2 separate regions of the Homo sapiens genome follow, and region 1 is linked to region 2. The links are contacts of gene promoters, found by promoter capture Hi-C in blood cells and fetal thymus (Javierre and others, 2016). All regions are on one chromosome and are shown on one strand. The core of a region is centred on a gene start or on the middle of the fragment in contact, and the rest is flanking DNA. Distances in the headings are between cores, read along the strand shown. Region 1 overlaps YIPF6 (Yip1 domain family member 6). Region 2 holds the start of STARD8 (StAR related lipid transfer domain containing 8).

What was found. The method cuts DNA at HindIII sites, captures the fragments that hold promoters and counts their contacts. A CHiCAGO score of 5 or more calls a contact.
Region 1: a fragment that was not itself captured here is called in contact with the fragment with the promoter of STARD8 in region 2 in 1 of 17 cell types (M0 macrophages); the score reaches 5.5 in M0 macrophages.

What each region holds. Positions count from the first base shown.
Region 1 is chrX:68,521,671-68,527,756 of GRCh38, reverse strand. YIPF6 (Yip1 domain family member 6) reads right to left here. Exons shown (of 7, transcript NM_173834.4): 6 at 4,840-4,997. Among named protein-coding and RNA genes, the nearest start is that of YIPF6, 26 kb to the right of the region's middle. The HindIII fragment of the contact is 1,796 bases long and covers 3,939-5,734 here.
Region 2 is chrX:68,646,250-68,652,703 of GRCh38, reverse strand. STARD8 (StAR related lipid transfer domain containing 8) reads right to left here and starts at 5,038. Exons shown (of 15, transcript NM_001142503.3): 1 at 4,777-5,038. The coding sequence starts at 4,821. The HindIII fragment of the contact is 1,063 bases long and covers 4,368-5,430 here.

The DNA of each region.
Region 1 (6,086 bases), core at 3,587-6,086, 120 kb after region 2:
AACGACCTGCTCTTGAATGACTACTAGGTAAACAACGAAATTAAGGCAGAAATAAACAAGTTTTTTGAAACCAATAAGAACAAAGACGGAACATACCAGAATCTCTGCAACAGAGCTAAAGCAGTGTTTAGAGGGAAATTTATAGCACTAAATGCCCACAGGACAAAGCGGGAAAGATCTAAAACTGACACCCTAACATCACAATTAAAAGAACTAGAGAAGCAAGAGCAAACAAATTCAAAAACTGGCAGAAGATAAGAAATAACTAAGATCAGAGCAGAACTGAAGGAGATAGAGACAAGAAAAACCCTTCAAAAAATCAATGAATACAGGAACTGTTTTTTTTGGAAAGATTAACAAAATAGACCGCTAGCCAGACTAATAAAGAAGAAAAGAGAGAAGAATCAGATAGACACAATAAAAACTGATAAATTGAAGATCAACACTGATCCCACAGAAATACAAACTACCATCAGAGAATACTATAAATACCTCTATGCAAATAAACCAGAACATCTAGAAGAAATTGATAAATTCCTGGACACATAATCCCTCCCAAGACTAAACCAGGAAGACGTCGAATCCCTGAATAGACCAATAATAAGTTCTGAAATTGAAGCAGTAATTAATAGCCTACCAATCAAAAAAAGCCCATGACCAGCCAGATTCACAGCTAAATTCTACCAGAGGTACAAGAGGAGCTGGTACCATTCCGTCTGAAACTATTCCAAACAATAGAAGAAGAGGGATTCCTCCCTAACTCATTTCGTGAGGCCAGCATCATCCTGAAACCAAAACCTGGCAAAGACACAACAAAAAAAGAAAATTTCAGGCCAATATCCTTGATGAACATCACTGTGAAAATCCTCAATAAAATACTTGCAAACTGAATCCAGCAGCATATCAAAAAGCTTACCCACCATGATCAAGTCAGCTTCATCCCTGGGATGCAAGGTTGGTTCAACATATGCAAATCAATAAACGTAATTCATCACATAAACAGAACCAATGACAAAAACCACATGATTATCTCAACAGATGCAGAAAAGGCCTTTGATAAAATTCAACACCGCTTCATGCTAAAAACTCTCAATAAACTAGGTATTGATGGAACGTATCTCAAAATAATAAGAGCTATTTATGACAAACCCATAGCCAATATCATACTTAATGGGCAAAAGCTGGAAGCATTCCCCTTGAAAACCAGCACAAGACAAGGATACCCTCTCTTACCACTCCTATTCAACATAAAGTCTGGCCAGGGAAATCAGGCAAGAGAAAGAAATAAAGGGTATTCAAATAGAAAGACAGGAAGTCAAATTGTCTCTGTTTGCAGATGACATGATTGTATATTTAGAAAACCCCATCGTCTCAGCCCATAATCTCCTTAAGCTGATAAGCAACTTCAGCAAAGTCTCAGGATACAAAATCAATGTGCAAAAATCACAAGCCTTCCTATATACCAATAACAGACAGAGAGCCAAATCATGAGTGAACTCCCATTCACAATTGCTACAAAGAGAATAAAATACCTAGGAATCCAACTTACAAGGGATATGAAGGACCTCTTCAAGGAGAACTACAAACCACTGCTCAAGGACATAAGAGAGAACACAAACAAATGGAAAAACATTCCATGCTGATGGATAGGAAGAATCAATATCATGAAAATGGCCATACTGCCCAAAGTAATTTACAGATTCAATGCTATCCCCGTCAAGCTACCATTGACTTTCTTCACAGAAGTAGAAAAAACTACTTTAAATTTCATATGGAACCAAAAAAGAGCCCATATAGCCAAGACAATCCTAAACAAAAAGAACAAAGCTGGAGTTATCACTCTATCTGACCTCCAACTATACTACAAGGCTATGGTAACCAAAACAGCACAGTACTGGTACCAAAACAGATATATAGACCGATGGAACAGAACAGAGGCCTCAGAAATAATGCCTCCCATCCAAAATCATCTGATCTTTGACAAGCCTGATAAAAACCAGCAATGGGGAAAGGATTCCCTAGTTAATAAATGGTGTTGGGAAAACTGGCTAGCCATATGCAGAAAACTGAAACTGGACCCTTTCCTTATACCTTATACAAAAATTAACTCAAGATGGATTAAAGACTTAAATGTAACACCTAAAACCATAAAAACCCTACAAGAAAACCTAGATAGTACCATTTAGGACATAGGCATAGGCAAAGACTTCATGACTAAAACACCAAAAGCAATAGCAACAAAAGCCAAAACTGACAAATGGGATCTAATTAAACTAAAGAGCTTCTGCACAGCAAAAGAAACTATCATCAGAGTGAATAGGCAACCTACAGAATGGGAAAAAATTTTTGCAATCTATCCATCTGACAAAGGGCTAATATCCAGAATCTACAAAGAACCTAAACAAATTTACAAGAAAAAGACAACCCCATCAAAAAGTGGGCGAAGGATATGAACAGACACTTCTCAAGAGAAGACATTTATGCGGCCAACAAACATATGAATAAAAGCTCATCATCACTGCTCATGAGAGAAATGCAAATCAAAACCACAATGAGATACCATCTCACGCCAGTTAGAATGGCTATCATTAAAAAGTCAGGAAACAACAGATGCTGGAGAGGATGTGAAGAAATAGAAATATTTTTACACTGTTGGTGGGAGTGTAAATTAGTTCAAGCATTGTGGAAGACAGTGTGGCGATTCTTCAAGGATCTAGAACCAGAAATACCATTTGACCCATCAATCCCATTACTGGGTAATACTATAAAGACACATGCACACCTATGTTTACTGCTGCACTGTTCACAATAGCAAAGACTTGGAACCAACCCAAATGCCCATCAATGATAGACTGGATAAAGAAAATGTGGCACATATACACCATGGAATACTATGCAGCCACGTAAAAGGTTGAGTTCATATCCTTTGTATGAAGCTGAAAACCATCATTCTCAGCAAACTACCACAGGAACAGAAAACCAAACACCACATGTTCTCACTCATAAGTGGGGGTTGAACAATGAGAACACATGGACACAGGGAGGGGTACATCACACACTGGGGCCTGTCAGAGGCTGGGGGGGCTAGGGGAGGAATAGCATTAGGAGAAATACCTAATGTAGATGATGGGTTGATGGGTGCAGCAAACCACCATGGCATGTGTATACCTATGTAACAAACCTGCATGTTCTGCACATGTATCCCAGAACTTAAAGTATAATAATAATATAAAAACATATATATATATATATATTTTTAGCCAAATAAATAAATAAATGAAAATAATCAGCCAGGTGCGGTGGCTCATGTCTGTAATCCCAGCACTTTGAGAGGCCAAGGCGGGTGGATCACCTGAGGTCAGGAGTTCGAGACCAGCCTGGCCAACATGGTGAAACCCCATCTCTACTAAAAACACAAACATTAATCGGATGTGGTGGCACATAGCTGTAATCCCAGCTACTCGGGAGGCTGAGGCAGGAGAACTGCTTGAATCCAGGAGGTGGAGGTTACAGTGAGCCGAGATAGTGCCACTGCACTCCAGCCTGGGTGACAGAGTGAGACTCTGTCTCAAATACTAATCATCATCATCATCACATCTCTGGGAAATCTTTCCTGAATAATCATGTCTGTCCCACTGTACTGTGTATAAATCTCCATTTCCCACTTAGAACACCTATTGCCTTTAAATGTTTTCACGTCGGGCTGCTCTGTTAGATTGTGAACTCCAAGGACAAAGACCATGCCTAAAATTATGCCTGACGCATAGTTTGTGATTAATGTTTGCTGAATTAAAGTTTCTCTCTCCTATGATTCTACTTCGTGATCACCTGTGAGCCTGGACACTGGATAACTAAGTAAGTATAATTACATTTATGGTAATTATGAGATTCTCAGTGAGAGAATGAGGGGCTCTCCCCATGGGAAAAGCACCCAAGCTTAATATACAGTCTTTGGAATATCAGTTCTGGCTCTCTCAGACCTTTGTTGGATTACTTCTTAGCTTTCAACCATGTTCCAGAGCAATGAGATGTTACTACACTTAAAAATATTAAGCAGTCTGCCTATCCATTAAAGCAGAAGCTAGTGAACACTTCTAAATTTAAGCTGGAATCTTAAGAGAACTTTAGGAATATAAAAACAATGAGCACATAGCATTCATTATCATTGCTATAGGCCCTTCCTAGTCTTTAGCAAAATGTTCTACTGAAGCAGAAAAGTGCTATATAATGATACTTACAATCTACACTGGAAGGTGGTATAGTATAGTTCTTAAAGGTTCATGACTGCCTGGTTTGCAATTTGACTCTCTTACTCACAAGTAATGCAACCTAGGGCAAGCTGCTCAACTTCTCTGTAACTGTTCTTCATCTGTAAGATGGGACTAATAACAGTATTTCTCTATTAGAGTTGCTGTGAGGCTTAAATGGGATAATATATATAAAGCACTTAAACAGTGCCTGGCCTTTGATAAGCAATCTGTAAATGTTATTATTTTTATTTTAATTAGTTTATCAGGAAAAGATCCCAGTCATTCCACAAGTCACCTAATGCCTTGTATATACCAGGACTAGGCTAAATGTAGTGTAATCCACTTTCCCAACCTTTTTTTTTTTTTAAAGAAAGAAAAAAGATGTGACTCTCCACATCTTATAAGTCCAGATATCCAACTCAGATAAGCCCCATCATTGCCTACTCAGGGAAGAGGGTTCTATGGATAATACTATCAAGAATCATATCACTCACATCTAACTTTGGACTTATACTGCTCCTCATCTGGTCTTCATCATTAAATCATGTTTTTGTCTGTTCTGTTATTGTGGAAATAAGTACATACTTACCAACTATAGACCAGGCAAACATCACAATCACCACAAAAAGCCGAACCATGAAGTTTACAGGTCCTGGATCAGCCAAAAGTACCAGCCGGCAAATCAGCATTGCTACTGTCAAGGGAAGTATACAGTAACCCAGCACACAGAGGCTCTGAAAAAAAGATCTTAAAAACAAAATACATTAATAAAGATCATAAATACAACTGATGGGTGTTATGACACAGCTTATTACATAGATTTCTCTATGTAACGGAATGTTGCCTCCTTCTTGGTACATAACATCTACATCCTAACATTAATTATTAAGTACATGCTTTTGGCTGGGCGCGATGGCTCACGCCTGTAATACCAACACTTTGGGAGGCCAAGGGTGGGGGGGTGGATCACCTGAGGTCAGAAGTTCAAGACCAGCCTGGCCAACATGGTGAAACCCCGTCTCTACTAAAAATACAAAAAAAAATTAGCCGGGCATTGTGGCAGGCACCTGTAATCCCAGCTACTCAGGAGGCTGAGGCAGGAAAATCGCTTGAACCTGGGAGGTGGAGGTTGCAGTGAGCTGAGCTTGTGCCACTGCACTCCAGCCTGGACAGAGCGAGACTCCATCTCAAAAAAAAAAAAAATTAAGTACATGCTTTAATTTTCTTTCCCCATACTCTTCCTCCTCTCCTCTCAAATTCCTTAAAAGTCAATCATCTAACACCAGATGATCTGCTCTAGTTCCTACAGATATCTTTCTCTGAACCTCTAAGGTAGTGGTTCTTAATCCTTTCTAGTTTATAGACCTATTATACTTGAGAATTTGTTAAAAGCTAGGGACCACTTGCCCCCCAAAACGTACATACTCTTCTTACACAAAAAAGTCTGCCTATGATTTCAGGGCCTGGAAAGGGCATCTGAAGCTTATCAAAGGACCTCTGATAATTTAAGATAATTTAACTTAACAAGGTTATCTCTGTACAGTGGTAGTGGTTTTAAGAACACTTCTCTTTGGCCCTTATTTAGTTTGATTTTTCTTTAAAACAAAATATGAGGCCAGGTATGGTGGCTCATGCCTGTAATCCCAGCATTTTGGGAGGCCAAGGTGGGAGGATCACTTGAACCCAGGAGTTCAAAACCAGCCTAGGCAATACAGTGGGACCCCATCTCTACAAAAAAAAAAATTTTTTTAATTAGCCAGGCATAGTAGCACATGCCTGTAGTCCCAGCTACTCGGGATGCTGGGGCAGGAGGATCCCAGCTACTTGGGACGCTGA
Region 2 (6,454 bases), core at 3,789-6,288:
GTGTGTGTGGTGTGTGTTTCATGTGTGTGGAGTGTGGGGTGTGTGGCTGTGTGTTGCGGGGGAGCGGGTGAGAAACTGACTCATGCATGCTTCGTTGTACCAAGGGGCCATGGATGCCTTCCGGGCCCTGACTGGCCTCCAGGGGAAGACACAGCAAACACGTATTGGACTATTTATACTGGGTTCATCTCACACTTAAACGTCTTGTCCCTTGGCTGCCCCTAACACAAGAGCAGCTCAAAGCAATCCTGAGCCCTGGCCTGGCCTTTTGCCACCTTCCCACCATCCCTGGCTTCTGGGGTGTCAGCCTTCATCTCCCAAATGGATCACTTCTATTCCTAGACCCAGGCATAGTCAAAGTAGAGGGCTGAGGAGTTGTGGCAAAGGAGCAGACTGGACCTGAGACCCTAACCCTGGAATTTTCAAATATAGAATAACCCTCATTCTTTGCTGTGGTGCCTCTAGTACACAGTTTCGGAAGCTGCTTCCAACAAATCATGTGTATTGACCACCTACTCCATGTCAGGCACTTTAAAGACACAGCCTTGCCGAGCGTGGTGACTTACGCCTGTAATTCCCGCACTTTGGGAAGCCAAGGCGGGCTGATCACTTAGGGTTAGGAGCTCGAGACCAGCCTGGCCAACACGGTGAAACCCTGTCTCTACTAAAAATACAAAAAAAAAAAAAAATTAGCTGGGCGTGGTGGCGGGCGCCTGTAATTCCAGCTACTCGGGAGGCTGAGGCAGGAGAATCGCTTGAACCCGGGAGGTGGAGGTTGCAATGAGCAGACACTGCACTCCAGCCTGGGCAACAGAGCGAGACTCGGTCAAAAAAAAAAAAAAAAGACTTAACCCACCCACCAAATGTTCGTGGCATTTCTGTGAGGCGGGCACTGATTAGTGTCATTCTGCAAACAAGGAAATTGAGGCTCGGAGAAGACTTGCTCGAAGGCACACAGCTAGTATGTGTGCCTGTGGGTGTGGGGTGGAATTGAAACCCAAGTTTGTGTGCTTCACCCCTCCTCATACCTCTTCAGCTGATGAAGGGCTCCATATGGTGGGGGAGGGAAGGGGCTCGGTTTCCCTATCAGGACCATGAGAAGTTTGAATAAGATGATCTGAGAGGGCCCTTTCAGCTCTGACAGGATCTGTCCCGGCCATTCCCCACCCCTCAAACCCCTCAGTCTCCCGCACTCAGGGGGCCTGGCTCAGAGAGGGAGGGTGGCTCACAGCAGCCCGTGCCCTTGACTGAGCTCCCGAGCCCAGAGAGCCTGCCTTTCTGACTGGGGCCTCAAAGCAGCAGCATTGGAAAAGGGAGCACGCAGTCCAAGTGTGTGGATCCGGCAGGCTGCCTCTTAGCCCTGAGATCCAGCCATGTGTTGATTCACATCTGCCAAGGACATGAGCAACCACAGACCTGTGCATATGCATGTGCATGCACGTGGACCTTCACGCCGTGTGCATGCTTTTGTATGTCTACAGGCTTTTTGGAGATGTGCCTGGCTGTGTCTCTGTGTGTCCCTCATGCTTGTGCATAGGAGGGTATGTATCTGATGTGCCTGTGTGCTTACCTCTGTATATGCATGCATGCATATGTGTGTGAGTCTACATCATGCTAGGAATGTGCACTGTCTGTGTGTACATGTGCATTTGCCTGTTTGTGCCAGGGTATATGTGTGTTCGTCTCTATGTATGTGTGTATGCACACTTGAATGGTGTGCCTGTGCATATGTGTGTGGGGTTGAATATGCACAAATGCACGTGTATGTCCTCTGTGGACACACTCATAAGTGAATGCGTGCAAACGTCTGGGACCCATGATAGAGATCCTCAACCTTCTCTTGGGGCTGTCCTAGCCCACCAGTTTTGTTTTGTTTTGTTTTGTTTTGTTTTGTTTTGTTTTGTTTTGTTTTGTTTTGTTTGAGACATAGCCTTAGTCTGATGGCCAGGTTGGAGTGCAGTGGTGCGATCATGACTCACTGCAGCCATCCTCCTGCCTCAGCCCCACAAGTAGCTGAGAAAACAGGCATGCATCACCATGCCTGACTAATTTTAAATTTTTTTTTCTAGAGACACAGTCTTACTATGCTGCCCAGGCTGGTCTTGATTTCCTGGACTCAAGTGATCCACCTGCCTCGGCATCCCAAAGTGCTGGGATTACAGGCGTGACACCATACCTATAATTACTATTCCTCCTCCTCCTCCTCCTCCTCCTCCTCCTCCCCTCCTCCTCCTCCCCTCCTCCTCTTCCTCCTCCTCCTCCTCCTCCTTCTTCTTCTTCTATAGGATCTTGCTCTGTAGTCCAGGCTGGAGTGTAGTGGTGCAATCATAGCACACTGCAGCCTTGAACTCCTGGGCTCAAGCAATCCTCCCAATTCAGTCTCCTAAGTAACTGGGACTATAGGTGTCCATTATGCATCACCGTGCCCAGCAAATTTTTTTTATTTTTCATAAAGGGTCTCATTATTGCCCAGGCTGGTCTGGAACTCCTGGCCTCAATCAATCCTCTCGCATTGGCCTCCCAAAATGCTAGAATTATAGGCATGAGCCACTGCTCTTAACCTAGCCCAACAGTTTCCAAGAGGCTGACAGGGGTTAGGACATGTTTTCTGGGCATCTGAGAAGTTGGGGTAATGAGTGCAAAGAGATTTAAATCCATGCCAAGCACCTAGAACAGTTAACTGGGGTAGGGGACAGAGGTGCCTCTCGGGCGTCAAACCTCAAAGGCACTTTAATTTTCCCTTCCCTCGTCATTATCATTCCATCCAGCTCTCTATCATTTCTTCCTCTCCCATCCTTATTTCCACTGCAGCTGCCTCCTTCCTGGCCTCTGCATCTCCACTTGGGCCCTTCCACACCATCCCTGCCCACTACTGCTGGAGTGCTTTTTCTAAAACCGTCCACTTAATTATATCCCTATTATGCTGAAATCAGCCCCTTATTCCCCAAAACAGTAGTCACCAGACTTTCAGATTTCATGGATGAGGAAAGTGTTCTTAAATAAATAAATAGGGAAACAATCAGCATGTCGCAAACTTTGTAATTTTGCTGAGGGCAGACATTTAAAAAATTTCTCACTCATATTTTGTAGGAGAAAGATCATTTGAATCCCCACCCCCACAGGAAGGACACAACAGTCTCCAAATAAAGAATAGTCCTTTGAGTTGAATTAATTTAGTTTTATGAACACTGCACGACATTATCCCTACTTTTCTCTCATTCCACCACAGATGGTTGAAAAATCTCATTCAGGACCCCTACTAGATGAGGACCATGAATCCACAGATTAATTCCAAACCCTTTGGGAAGTAGTCTCTGCTTCCCTTTCTCAAGCTCCTATCCTCTCTAACCCTACATTTGAGCCACATCACGAAAGAAGCCTTTCCCCCAGCCCACTACCATTTGACTGCCTCCAAACTCTAGCTCACGAAGTTCCCTCTGCCAGGCATGCCTGGAATGCCCTTCCCCCACTTTTGGACTGACAAACTCTTCTCTTCCTTTAAGCCTCAGGCTCAGCCCAAATGTGACCTCCTGTGAAACCTCTCCAAGTCCCTCCCGGTGGAATGGATCTTTCCTTCCCAAAGGTCCCAGCATTCTTTCATCCTGTCTTACAGTCAGGCTAGTCGTTTGAAAGTCTTCCTACTGGGTTGGACTGTGGGAAACCACACAGCGTCAAGAAAGGCATGGACTTAGGAGCTCAGATCCCAGCTCTGCCAGTCATATCTGAGCAACCTTGTAAATATTTCTTAACTATTCACAGTGTCTTTTCCCTATCTATAAAAGCAGGAAAACAATGGGTTGTGCTGAGGATCACTGCCACATGAATGAATTAAAAGTGCCTAGGTCTGGTACATAGTGGATACTAAATAAATATTAGTTTCTTGGTTCTTGAGAGTGGAATCATGCTTTACACACACTTGTGGGTTCGGCTGTGCTCATGTATCCCCCATGGCCAGGATATAGTAGACACTCAACAAATATTTACTGACAAACTGACTATTTAGCACAATGTCTGGCATATAGTAGGTGCCTGGTAAATATTTGTCACTTTTCTTATATTCTCTTTGAGGACAAAAGCCATGTCCTTCTTTGTCTTCTTTTAAAAAATGGAGATGGGGGTCTCCTTATGTTGCCTAAGCTGGTCTTGAACCCCTGGCCTCAAGTGATCCTCCCACCTCGGCCTCCCAGAATGCTGGGATTACAGACGTGAGCCACTGTGTCCAGCCCTTTTTTGTCTTTGTGTAGCTCCAGTGGTGCCTAGCACAGAGTATGTGCTTTTATATATATGGATAGAAATTAATAATAATAATAATAATAGATACCATTGTTTGTGTGGATGCTCCACACCAGGCATCCTGCTAGGAAGCTTACACACATTATCTCCTGGATTTGCATACATTTGCTATGTAAACAATAACACCAACCTCATCACCCCGTAAGGTTGGTGTTACTATGGTCCTCATTCTAAAGCTGAGAGGAAACTGAGGTTCAGAGAGGTTAAGTATCTTGCCTTTGTGGCAAGATCCAGGAAGCAACAGAGGCGAGTTTTATTAAAAAGAGCCAACTAGCAGACTTGTTTGTATGGGAATGCAACAGAAGGTCACAGAACTGGTTAAGTGACAAAGGTGAGACTTGAACCCAAGCCTTTCTAACTCCGAGAGCCTCAGGTAGTCTCAGAAGCCCGTCTGGTCCGTTTTCCCAGCTGGTGCGCAGTGGTCCACATCTGCCTCCTTCCCCCCTGAGCAGCGGGATGGGCTGGGGCTGGCCAGTCACTTACCTTCACCTTCCTGAAGCAAGACCAGAAAACGTCCAGCAGAGGCATGGTGGCGCGTGGGGAGCTTCTAGGGCCGGCGGGGCTGTGCCGGGCACCGGCTCCTCCCTCTCTGGGGACGAGGCTAAAAGAGGCCCGGGGCTCGGCGAGAGCCAGCCCGGTCCCTGCGCTCCATGAGCCGGCCCCGCGAGGGGAGAGGCGGAGAGCAGCGGTTGCCGGGGCTCAGCTGCCTCGACAGCGGGCGCCTCCCGCCTCCTGGAAGGCCACCGAGGGAGGGAAAAAAGGAGGGAGGGAGAGAGGCCGGCTAAGGAGGAGGGACCAGGAGGCGGGTCACTGATTCAAACTCGGCACCGTTAGCCAGTTGGCTGGAACGGGACAGCAATGCCAATTGAAATTCCCTGAACATTACAGTTCCCCGGCTCCGGGTGTCCGGCCCTCCTGCCGGCTCCCCTGCCAGCCCCGCCACCTGCATGCTGGCATTGCCTGCCTGCTTGCTTCTTGGCTGACTGACACGCCAGCTCTCCTTGGGGACCTCTCGGTAGAGCCCAGACCACACAGGGCCTGTGGAAAGAGTGCCAAGGAAAAGGGGCAAGGAAGGAGAGCCCCGGCCCCAGCAGGACCGAACAAGGTGTGAATGCAGTCCACGGAAGGGGAAAAGCTTGCAGCCTTAGAAGCCCCTCTCAGACAGGTGCCCTGGCCCTGCCTCAGTAGATTATTCTCCAGCCCTCTGAAGTGAGGACTCTTGACTCACTGTGGCATCTCGGAGAGGCCCCTTCCTCCTGGGTCTCAGTTTTCCCAGCTGTACAATGAGATGCCGGGTTAGAGGTCTCTAAGTATCAAATCTGTTTGGGGTTAGGTACAGGGCAAGTCTCAAAGAAACTCCACTCTGGACAATCACAGTTCCTCTCAGAACTCCCCTGCTGCTCCTGGGAGTCCATAGGAAGTCAGGTCTTGCCCCAAAGAGAATCTGAGCCCTCAAATGCCATTTCATCCATCCCCCTGCCCCAGGGCATAACAGCAGCTCTCTCCCAGCTCAGATAGACTGGGTGTATGCCCTTTTCTGAACATCTTCTGAAGAGATGATGGCTTCCCTCCTTTATCCAGTCCCATGCTCAGGACCCTCTAAGCCCAGAAGTTTAGCCTGAAATCTAAACTTGAACCCTCTGGATGCCCTGAAAGGAAAGAAAGTCAGCAGCAGGCAGTTCTAGAGGCTTTCTGGGCAGAAAGCCATTAAGAAGCAGTGACCCTCCCCCTCTCTCAGCCCCTCCCCAGACATCAGAAGGCAGGGTGCCATGGCTGGTAGCCAGAAGGCTCCCAGGGACCCCATGGCAAAAGGCCAGGCTTGGGTCTCTGGAGGCACATGTCATCATGAGGCCCAGAATAACTAACTCTCCCTGGCCTCACTTCTGTTTCAGAGACCCAAGCTAGTCAGGCAAACAGCCAGGTCCTGGGACCCTGGAAGGTCCTAGGTTGCTTTAAGCAAGCCTCTACCTGCCTTCGGGGACTTTCTTCATCAGTGGCTTTGTCCGGAGGTTTGTCCAGAGGCTCTGTGAGGGTCCCCCCAGCTCTGTTTACAACTTACTCTGTGACCCTCAGTTTCCTCGTTTGTACCAAGGAGGCTGCAATCACTGACCTCACCCTCTCTCTAGCTCCGACCTCAGGGGTGTCTCAGATGTGAGTTCTG